Regions from separate parts of the Homo sapiens genome. Here region 2 is linked to region 1. The links are contacts of gene promoters, found by promoter capture Hi-C in human tissues and cell types (Jung and others, 2019). All regions are on one chromosome and are shown on one strand. Each heading gives the region's core, a stretch centred on a gene start or on the middle of the fragment in contact. The rest is flanking DNA. Distances are from core to core; before and after follow the strand shown.

What was found. Contacts are between HindIII fragments. The study calls those that stand out against the background at their distance.
Region 2: a fragment that was not itself captured here is called in contact with the fragment with the promoter of COL22A1 in region 1 in 2 of the 25 tissues and cell types used here (bladder and spleen).

Annotation. Positions count from the first base shown.
Region 1 is chr8:138,910,813-138,916,687 of GRCh38, forward strand. COL22A1 (collagen type XXII alpha 1 chain) reads right to left here and starts at 3,229. Exons shown (of 65, transcript NM_152888.3): 1 at 2,807-3,229. RefSeq lists an enhancer at 2,330-3,175. The HindIII fragment of the contact is 9,946 bases long and covers 1-5,875 here.
Region 2 is chr8:138,953,391-138,959,265 of GRCh38, forward strand. No RefSeq gene overlaps it. Among named protein-coding and RNA genes, the nearest start is that of COL22A1, 42 kb to the left of the region's middle. RefSeq lists enhancers at 1-168, 859-1,547. The HindIII fragment of the contact is 8,715 bases long and covers 1-5,875 here.

The DNA of each region.
Region 1 (5,875 bases), core at 1,979-4,478:
CCAGGTAAATCATTCAAACTCTCATCTTTCATTTCCTTGTTTCTAAAACTGAGATATGAATGACACACACGTAGTCCATGGTCCTGGCCCATAGTAACCACACCACCCATGTTGACCTCTATCAAAAACATCATAAGCACCTTCGAAGGAAGAGAGGGATGCAGGAGGGGACCAGCAGACTATTAAGGCTGGAAGGGAAGTGCTTGGTAATTGCAGTATCTCAAGCTAGGAAGGACCTTAAAAGCTTACCTAGCTCAAGCATTCCAGGTTTAGATCAGCCTTACAACAGCCATCCCATCTGTCTGAATGCCTCCTGTAGTGGGGGACTCACTCCCTAATGAATCAATCCCTCTTGTCTTTGGAAAGGTCTTCCAACTGAACTGGACTCCAACATCCAGTGAAGCTCCTCCACTCATCCTTTTAGCTGGACCCTCTGGGGACCAAGACAGCAGACCAGCTGCCTCTTCTACAGGGCAGCCCTCCAAATGGCTGGGGCCACTGTCTTCTCTGCACTAGAAGACCTTTCTATGGTAGTATCCTTCCACATAAGCTATGACTTCTATTCCCAGGAAAGCCTGATTTGTCTCCTCTAAATGCACTTCCACTTATCTGTGACCCTCTTACAATGAAATCAGAGAGAGATAACCCTGATCTTCTAACTCAGAGCAAGCAAGCTCCCAGGTCTTCAGAGGCCCTGCAGGTCACACAGATGACAGCGGATGACCAGAGGGCACATGCCTTGTCTAAAGGGGATGGCTAATCCTCACCCCAGCCATGGACAGCCTTGCAGGGATTCCAGCCAAAAGAGAAACCAGAGACTAAGATTTGTAACATGAAATCTCCTGATCATTTTATGTTGGCAATAACTGAAACTACACACAAAGCCTTAAAACTGTCTGTGGACTGCATCCGTTTAGGGGCCATTTACTTAATCATTTTGTAGGTATAAAACCTTTCGTGAATCTGATGAAAGTTTGACCAAACCACAGAAAAACCAGACACAAACTTCTGCTCCAAATGTTTTAAAGGATGCATGGATCCCTGGGAGCCACTCTTGGACCCCAGGAAAGAAAATCCTCATTGGATGCAGCATCTTGTCTAATAAGACAGGCCCAACAATATCAAAGTGACCATTTCCCACAGTTGCGCAGTGCCTCAGTAGCACAGCGACAAGGAAATCTAGAATGAGGTGGGGGTGCTTCCTGCTGAAGCTCCCCAGGTGTGTGAAACAGAAGCAAACTAAGATATATTGCATGCTCACCACGTACCAGATGCCTCTTGTGTTATCTATCTCTATCTCTTCCATCAGCTCCATCAGCAAAAGAGAAAATTGAGGCTCACTGAGGATAGCTGCTTGACCCAGGGCAGCCAAAGAGAGCAACAGAGTTAGCACTGGAAGACAAGACTAGCAGCAAAGCTCACATCCTTCAACTGCAACTTGCATGCAGCTGGGCAGCGTACCCCATGCAGCAGGCCTCTAACAAAAATGAAGCCCTGCAATTTCAAATTTTCCTGGAACCTTTGAACTTAACCAGGAGCCTGAAGATGTGGCCTTCAGCTTTCCATGATTTGCCTGGTAGAAATCATCAATGAGAGACAGATTAGGAGTGAGAAAGACCCACGTAGACATAGGAGTGTCGGCATGGGCCCAGGCGTGGTGGCTCATGCCTGTAACCCCAGCACTCTGGGAGGCCAAGGTGGGCGGATCACCTGAGGTCGGGAGTTGGAGACCAGTCTGACCAACATGGAGAAACCGCATCTCTACTAAAAATATAAAATTAGCCGGGCATGGTAGCTCATGCCTGTAATCCTAGCTACTCAGGAGGCTGAGTCAGGAGGAGAATCGCTTGAACCCGGGAGGCAGAGGTCACAGTGAGCCGAGGCTGCACCTCGCACCATTGTACTCCAGCCTGGGAAACAAGAGTGAAACTCGGCCTCAAAAAAAAAAAAAGTGTCAGGATGGGGCTCTGGAAGATGACAAGTCATGGAATGAAGTTCTGAGGAGGGGGACCCGGCACACAGCTCTGGAACAGGCCGGCAGGCGGTGCCTCCTTCTGCAGATGGTTGATAAGCATGTCCACCTGTCATCCCTGAGTCTTGCCTTGAGTGGGGAGAAGTGAGGACTCATTTTCCAATAACACAGCTAATTCAAATCGTGCTCAATAAAGTGGCACACGAAACTCTGGTCTGCTACAGAACATGATACGCAGGGATTGGGGGAAGGACAAAAACACCTCTCTGACCTAGAGAAGGCTGGGAGAGGGGGGATAAAATGCTCAAATAGAAATGAGATCTAAATTTAGATCAAGAAAGCTAAGTTCCCTGACAGTAAATGTAAAACCAAACGAAGACTATTCTTTCCCCACCCCCTGCTCCATTTCCCCCGCATCTTTTTCTCCTTTTACTGCAAACTTCTTACTTGAAAGTTTAAAGAGCTGGTACATCTCAACTACTTTAAAGTATTATAGCAATCTGAAAACAAGCTCTCGCATTTGACTCTCGGCGGCCATCGCTGAGCTCCTCGCTGCTCAGCTAGAATCAAACAGGTGTGTTCTCACGGATTTGCCGCTATTTTACTCTGAAGTTAAGTCAAGACACAGACACATCTGCTTCCAACTATAGTCACTCCCTAAAGAGCGAAGTGTGCTCAGGCTTCAGAAGGAAACGCGTCTGTATTTGGAGAGAACATCTCCCCAGCCCGCATCCACCCCCCGCCTCTCGTCCCTCACTGTCATCTGGGAAGATGGGCGTCAGCTGAAGTCTGTGACCTTCAGCACTGCAGCAAAGAAGAGAACCCGGGTCTTACCTGGCAGGGAGGCACTCAGGGGTGCCAGCGGAGGTCCAGTCCTGGGCCCAGGCCCACTGGAAGCAGCAGCTGGGAGAAGACACCAGCCCCAGGAATCCTCCTCCTGGGGGTCACCTGTCAGCCACTCGCCCACTCTCCCCCAAATAATCTCACAAACTCAGACTCTAAACAAGACCCGCAGTAAGTGTGGAGGCTTTCCCCAGGCCAGGGGGCCAGAGAGGGAACCAGCTTGAAAACAAGTAACTAAATACATACAGTTAGAAGGAAAGGCTTGAAAGTTACAGAATGAGATAGAAAGTGTGTGAGAAACAGAAGAACAGGGAAAGCGGAGAAGACACTTCCTTGGGGAGAAACGCCGCAGCCTCGGCCAGCCCCGCCACTGCCCAGGAACAAAGCTGTCTGGAGCCTCCCCAGGGGCAAGCTGGCCTCAGCGCTGGGATTCCCCGGCTAAGAGCGCGGGGCTGGGGAGGAGCTGGGGCGGGGGCGGGCCTAGGAGCTCGGGGCGGGAGCGGGCGGGGGCCAAGCCGCGAAGGAGGAGGAAAATCAGGGGGCTGGGAGCGGGGAGGGGCCGGAGGTGCAGGGGCGGACCCCAGAGAAAACGAGAGAGGCCGACGAGGCCCCGGACAGTGGCGAGGGGCTGCGGGGAAAGGTGGGCAGGGACCTCGGGAGGGCTGTGGGGGACTGGACAGCGTTAGGGTCCAGGCAGTAACGAGGTGGCCCTGGGAAGCCCAAAAGAGGGGCTGACAACTTTCTGTCCAATTATAGACTTCACTGATACTCTGCTCCCTTTTCCAGCGGGTCTGAAATAGACCACCGACTAGTGCCGCAGCTGCCCGAAACTTTGGGAAGTTTGGCGCCACCAGGGGGCCTGGGGAGGGGGCGCGCTTGGCTCTTTTTCCAGATCTGAGAGGCCCCCTCCTGTCTGAGCAGGTGAGAGCAGGTAACGCGCACCCCTCTGTGCCAGGGGCTCCACCTACAGGCAGCCCTGTTCACTGGCTGTGACTTCAGCTCTGAGGACAGGGGCATCGCGTCCTTCTTTTTGGGATGAGGACAGTGAAGCCTCGGAGAGAGCCTTTATAGTCTGCCAGCGCCCCCAGCAGAGCAGGGATATGGGCCCACGTTGGCCTGATGAGGACACTCGCCTGGCTAATGGGCTTTCCAGCCCCCAAAGGCAGACCATGAACAGGTGCAGGCCCGGGGCACCCTTCTACTTTTTCTTTCTGAGCACTGTTCCTAAAAATGGGCCAGGCAGGAGTATTTTGAACTAGATGAGAACATGGTTTAATCTGTGTGACCTCCCCCACCCCCAGCTCCCAATCTGTCTCCTAAACTCTGGGGTGTCTTTATTTGGTTGCCTGCTGGGTAGCAACGATTTCATAAACAGGCAGTATCGGGCTCCTCTGTGACCCAGGGAGCTCAAAAATCCAGCTGCTTCCTCCCTCTCCGGTCTTGTTTTCCAGCCACTCTTGTGGAAATTCATTTCACATGTGTTGACTGAACCCCACCACCCTCACCATGTCAGGTGCCCATCAAGTAGAAGAGAGGGCTGGCCGTATCACGAGAAAGGTGAGGGGCTGAGATGGGTGCTTGTCAGTTACCAGGAGGGCGGGACGCAGAGAAGAGAATGATTGCACCTGCGAGAGCCCAGCGCGTGCGCCTCTGGGCACACTAGTGTCAGAGGCATTGAACCAGAGCAACTCCATCTTGAATAGGGGCTGGATAAAATGAGGCTGAGACCTACTGGGCTGCATTTCCAGCAGGTTTGGCGTTCTTGTCACAGAATGACATAGGAGGTAGGTACAAGACACAGGCCACAGAGGCCCCACTGATAAAACAGGTTGCAATAAAGAGGCTGGCCAAAACCCACCAAAACCAAGATGGTGACCTCTGGTCATTCTCACTGCTGATTATATGCTGATTATAATGCATTACCATGCTAATAGACACTCCCACCAGTGCAATGACAGGTTACAAATGTCATGACAACGTCCAGACGCTACCCTATGTGGTCTAAAAGTTTCCCTCAGTTCTGGGAAATCCCCTCCCCTTTCCCAGAAAACTCACTAATAATCCACCCCTTGTTTAGCATGTAATCAAGAAAGAACTATAAGTATATCTGGTCGAGCAGCCCGTGCCACTGCCCTGCCTGCAATAGCCATCCTTTTGTTTCTTTACTTCCCTAATAAATTTGCTTTCACTTTATGAACTTGCCTTGAATTCTTCTCCTGGAGTCTGGATTGGGATCCTTTTCCGGTAACACTAGTGGGAACACAGACAGAAAAGAGGGATGAGACCACAACATTAAATTACAATAAGTTATAATAAGTGCTATGAAGAAAAAAAAAGATGAGTCAGAGAACAAAGTAAGGGGTGCAAACCCTATATTCAGGGCTAAGGAGAGGTGTGCTGAGCAGGTGGAAGACTGAAGAATGGGCAAAGCCACCATGCAGAGGAGGAGGCCCTGGAATCAGGGCTGGAAGGGGAATTGGGAGCTCACCAGGCAGAGGGAAAGACTTGAGCCCGTGGAGAGTCGAGTCTCCTGTGCCCTGGGACCTGTGGAGGGCCATGGCCAGGGACAAGGCTGGGTGAGGAGCAGGGCACAGATGAGGGGGCTGGCAAGGCCTGCTGAGGGGACAGACTTGGTCCTGAGGACCAGGAGTCACAGAAGTGCCTTAGAGGGGCAGGAGCATGGCCAGGGCAGGGCCTTGCAGAGCCTGCTGCCAGTGGCACAGTTGGGAGGTGGTAGGGGAGGTGCGCTGGGAGACTACTCAGTTGAATAAGTTCTGGAACGTCAGAGAGAGAGAGAACTAGCATCATCTCCAGGTTCAAGGTAGAGCCTCACCAGCACATACTTGTTGACACAGGTAAAATGAGGTCTCTAAAGTAAAGGGAGATCAGAAGGGAAATTGAAGTTCCAGCCATGCGTGACCCCAAGGGCTTTTTTCCCCGTTTATTTTAACATTTGTTAAGAACCTACTAATGTCAGACATTGGGAGTGCAAAGCTGGATAGAATATAATCCAGACCCCAAAGGAAACAAAAGTCTGGAGGGACAGAATCAGCTTTTAAA
Region 2 (5,875 bases), core at 863-3,362, 41 kb after region 1:
AAGACTAACTGAGCTGGGGGCAGTCAAGAGCTTGTCAGCTCCAGGCAGCAAGATCTCAACCTTCAGGGGCAGGGAGCACAAACCTCTCTCCCTTCCTCTCTCTCTCTGAAAGCTAAATAACAAAATATCAGCCCCTCCCAAAGGCACAGTGGTGAGATGAGGGCCACCAAAAGGCCTGCTTGGCAGGACACCCTGTCAGGTTTTGGGGAGAGAAGGGCAGAACCAGTAGCCTGCAGGTCACACTTGGCCTTTAAGGTGATCATTCATATCATTACAGTTATTATTGCTCACATGGCATTTTAAAAATCTGAATTAATTACCATCACTGAAGGATGTTGCATTTTCACATTCAAACTCACATACCCAGATTCTCTGGAGGAAGCCGTGTGTAAGGCCACAATGAGCACACACGTTCCACAAGCCACAGTGGGCTAGAGCTGAGGAGCTGCCCCTGGGAGAGTGGGTGCATCAGAATTTGCCACAGTAAGTTCCACCCCTGTGGTTTCCCCATCCTCACGCTGGCATTTCTGTCATTGCCTCTTTCTCACTTTAAACACCTGCTGGCCTATTTGTAAATTTGAGTTTACAACCTCTGCTTTAAAACAGCCCACATTTATTAGATAAAGGAAATGAGGCCTGGGAGGGAAACTGAGGAAAGAACTTGCTGAGGCCATCATCCGAGCCGAAACAAGTACAACTGCACAAGCTAGAGAACGCTGTTGTAAACCAAAAATAAAATAGGGCCCCCTAATCATCTGAATGGACACCCTCCTAAACCAGGGCTCTTTAAATTTAATCTGAGAGAGCTGGATGCAGTGGTTCATGCCTGTAATCCCAGCACTTTGGGAGGACAAGGCAAGTGGATCACTGAAGGTCAGGAGTTCAAGACCAGCCTGGCCAACATGGTGAAACCCTGTCTCTACTAAAAATACTAAAAGCAGCCAGGCGTGGAGGTGGGCGCCTGTAATCCCAACTACTTGGGAGGCTGAGGCAAGAGAATCACTTGAACTAGGGAGGCTGAGGTTGCAGGGAGCTGAGATCGTGCCACGGCACTCCAGCCTGGGTGACAAAAGAGCCAGACTCTGTCTCAAAAAAAAAAAAAAAAAAAAAAAAATTAACCTGAGAGACTGTTTCAGGCTATGACAGGAAATGGGGGTCCCACTTGCCTCATTATACCCCTCCAGCGTTAACATCAACACAGACGTTAAGTCTGATAAGGAACAGTTTGCAGCCTATTCTCTCTGAAGCCTGCTAGCTAAAAGCTTCATCAGCATGATAAAACTCTGGTCTGTACAACCTCTTATCCTAACCCAGACATTCTTTTCTGTTTGATCTCAGGTCTTTAGACAAACTCAACCAATTGTCAACCAGAAAATGTTTAAATTTACCTATAACCACCCCACCACCACCCCGAGTTTTCCTGCCTTTCTGGACCAAACCCAATGTATTACAAAAGTAATTGCAATTTTTGCCATTAAAACAATCTCTCAGGTTAAATTAAATAAAAAGTAATGGTGAAAACTGCAATTACTTTTGCACCAACCTAATATTTCTTAAATGTACTTAATTGGTGTCTCATGCCTTCCTAAAATGTATAAAACCAAGCTGCACCCTGACCATCATGGGTACATGTTCTCAGGACCTCCTGAGGGCTGTGTCACAGGCCATGGTCACTCATATTTGGCTCAGAATCAATCTCTTCAAAGGTTTTACAGAGTTTGACTCTTTGCACCGACACTGTCCTTCTGGTATCTTATGGCACAAGACCAGCTCCAATTTCATATTCTGCCTACAGAAACCACTCTGGCTAACACCATTCTCCCTCTTCCCTAAATTCCAAACCACCTGCCATTTTTGCTATTTATTTGGTAATGAATCACTTACTACCATTTATATTTTGGTCACCATTTATCGATGTCTGATATGCGGTAGATATTGTGCTAGGTCCCGGGAAGGATAATGTGTGAATTACGTGCAATCCTGCCATTCAACTGACTGATCCAGTGCAGTAGAAAAAGCACAGCCTTGGAGCCAACCAGGAACGAGTTTGAATTCTGCTCTGATGCAGAATTCTGGCTTTGGGACCTTGGGTAAGGTATTCAAGAGTTCTGAGTCTTGGTTTCCTCATGTGTAAAATGAAGGCTGTGATTCCTCCCCCACGTGGACGTTGGGAAGGCTGATGAGGGCACGCACGCAAAAGCATGGCGCTGACTGTGGTCTCCTTGCTCTCAGATCCATGACCTCCCCTTCACATCCTCAAGGGCATTGCAGGGCACTGCATTTCGCAGACGCCCTGGTTCCTGGCTTCCCACATGAGGCCAACAGGAAGACTGGAAGGCAGCAGGAAGGGAGAAGCCAGGGTATTTCTCCCCTTTACTCTTACTTTTGGTAGCCTTTCTGGCCAGAACTGCGTCTCCTCCACAGTGCCAGATCCGTGGCAGCTGCCATGGTTTTAGCTGCTGCTAGGAAACCCTAATCTCCAGGTTCAACAAATACCACCTCTTGGTTCTTCCTGGTCAAGGTTGTTGTGGGTAAGCAGCATCTATCGGTGCCAGTGGTGAGGGGTTAAAAGAATTTACCAAGATAATTGTAGGTAAAGAAAGTCAGATTTATTAGACAAAGTAGGAAAATACGTTGCCAAGGAGCAATGGGCAGAATCAGCAGAAGAGGAGCTGACTGCCAGGAAACAAAGACTTGCTGGAGATTTTATAGGACGGCTCTTGGGTTGATTGATAATGCCACGGCAGCAGGGAGCTAACTTGCATTCTTCTGTTCACCAAGGAGATGTTTGATGATAAAATGAAGCATTTGAGGATAAACAGAAAGTTTGTGAGTTATGAACATTATCTGTGCAGGAGGGCTATACATCCTGGGCCATAAAGAAAGGCAGACCTGTAGCTTATTTGCTTTATCTCTTTGCTTTCCCCTGGTTCTGCCAGCCTGACTCTTTTCCTTTAATTAGGACTCCACAGAGATAGCAATACCTTCCTGCGGGGGCTGATCTCTCTCCTCTTTGGCAGCTCAGCTAACTGTTATCTATGCAATAAATTCCTTACTCTCAGGAGTTAAATTGTATCCCCCACGAAAGTCCATTTATTGAAGCCCTACCCCACCAGGACCTCAGAATGTGACCTTATTTGGGAGTAGCTAGTTGCAGATGTAACTAGTCAAAATGAGGTTACCCTGAAATAGGGTGGGTCCCTAATCCAATAAAGACTGGTGTCCTTATGGAAAGGAGAAACATGGAGACAGGTAGAACACTGTGTGAAGATGAGGGCAGACATCAGAGTGATACCTCTGCAACCCAAAGAACACCAAAGATGGCCAGAAAACCTTCAGGAGCTGGGGAGAGGCCTAGGACAGATTCCCTGTCACAGCCCCAGAAGGAACTAACCCTGCTGATACCTTGATCTTGAACTTCAGGCCTCCAGAACTGTGAGAGAATCAATTTCTGTTTGTTAAGCCATTCATTTGTGGTGCTTTGTTATGACAGTCCTAAAATACAAATACACCTACTTTAAATCCTTTCTGCTTGGTTTCTGTTTTCTGATGGAACCTACCTTTCAGTTGTAACCTGCATCTGGCACATGGCATGCAGTTTGATGAGAAGGGGGAAACAACCCTGATGCTGGTAGCAACAGGAGACTGACAGATTCCTAGGCAGACAGAGGTGGGTTCCCGGTGAAACCTGACCTTCAAGCCAAGGACGGTTTAAAGCCTGAAAACTGAGCTGCCACTTCCAGATAGAGTCCACAACTAGAATGAGAACTTCCATCCCAGTCTTACCTACTCTCTCTATTGGTACCTTCTGAATGATGCCTTTTAACCAATTGAATGGTGCTTTTTCTAAGCCCACCCATGGACCAATCAGCATGCACTTCCCCATTCTAAGCCCATAAAAATCCTGGACTCAGACTCACAGGCGACTGCCTGCTTTTGGGTCCCCTCTTGATGCTCAGAGCTTTCTTTCTGTCACTCCGTAAAATTCTACTCTGCCTTACTCACTCTCCAGTGTTCATATACCTTATTCCTCTTGGTCACGGTACAAAAACCCGGAAGTCACTGAACTACGAGAGCAAAAGAGCTGCAGTGCTGCTGCTCACCGAGCTGTGGGCGGTGGGAGTAAAATAGCTGTAACACTCCGTCCCACTTGTTGAACAGTGGTGGAAAAGAAGCCACTGGGTGCCACTCCCTCCCACTCACTAAACTGTGGAAGTGAAAAAGCCTCAACAATATCAAGCAGAATGAAAGCCAGAGCCAAAATAAAATTCAACCTGTGAAAGGAAAATAAAGACTCAAAACCCCAATTCACTCTGCCAAGACAAAACAAACAAAAAAACAAACAAACAAAAATTAAGCCGAAAGCTGAGTCATGCATGGAACTGCCTTTCCTTTTGTTCTTAAGAGAGCGCTCCCAATGATTAAATATCTCTATGTTCACCTCACACTATGTAAAGTGCCAATTCACTAAGCATGAAATGAATACATGACTGACTGTTCTCTTACCTGCTCCTTTTCTCTTGCAACACATGGACTCAGTAATGTGACCTTACCCTCCTTCTTCCCTGCTCCAGCCTACTTTTCACCTTTAATTATTGAAGCCCCCAAAATTATCTTTGGAGAAAGGCATGAACCTCTCTTCTGAGCATGTCCTTAACCTTGGCAAAATAAACTTCTAGCTCGATTGAGGCCTGTTTCAAATACTTTTTGGTTTGCAATTCAGAATGCATTTGGAATTCAATGAGTTCAAGTTATGTGCAAGGGACTGTGTATGTATGTGTGTGTGGTGTGTGTGTCTGTGTGTGTGTGTGTGTGTGTGTGCATGTTCTCAATGAGCTGTCAGAACAACCCACAGAACAAGCACCATTATCTCCATTTTATAGAACAAGAAACTGGGGTTCAGAGAAGGTAAGTGACTTACCCAGCAGGACACACTATGAGTGGGAAAACCAGCACTGGCCCTTCATGGCCTGCTCCCAGCTCCTCCTGCAGTGCTGTATCACCTGTAGAAGATGTTTTCAGGTTTCTGAGCTTCCCTAGGATTGGTTGGCCATAGAAAGCAATAGAAAACTAATACGGACCCTTGGGGATATTTTTTTCTCATCTCTCCCTACCTCCTCACTCTCTCTCCCTCACTATAGTCAGGAAGGAACTCACTAGAGAGCATAAATTCCATGATATCTTTTCCCCTCCACACCTGGCCACCATGTAGGCCCTGAGGATGTGTACATTAACTGGGTATCATCCCTGCCTTTGAGAATCTCACAGTCCAGAAGAGAAGAGAGGCATGAATAGGTAACAGCAACATCCCACAGTGGCAAAGCATCACTGAGAGGAGGTGGCCTCATGGAGGGCAGAGGAGAATGGGGCCAGTGACATCTCACAGGGGTCATGGAGGCTAAAGCCAAGAGACAGCCAGTGATGTCTGTGACACTTGAGAAATAAAACGTAATGAAAACACGATGTCGCTACATTCAACGGAACAGTGGGCGTCTGTAGTCATTGTCCTTCCCATGTTGCTACTTTGGTCCCAAGTAATTTCTGCAATTCCTGGACTCATCCAAAAATGAGTCCTCCAAATTTGCATCCTCCAAATACAACTATGACATAGGTAGTCTCATCACTCTCAATTTACAGATGAGGAAACTGAACCACGGGAACCTTACCCAGAGTCACATTACCAGTCAATGCCACATTATTCTGGGGACAGAGTGGCAAAAATGATACCTGGTTTCTGCCCACAGCCTTATACTCAAATAGGGGTGAGAAAGAATACATATATCCATGGAAAATGATGTCATGACAAATTATGATATGTGCTCAGAAGGAGAAAAGGGAAAATAAGAGAATAATGACCAGGCACCCTTGGACTAGA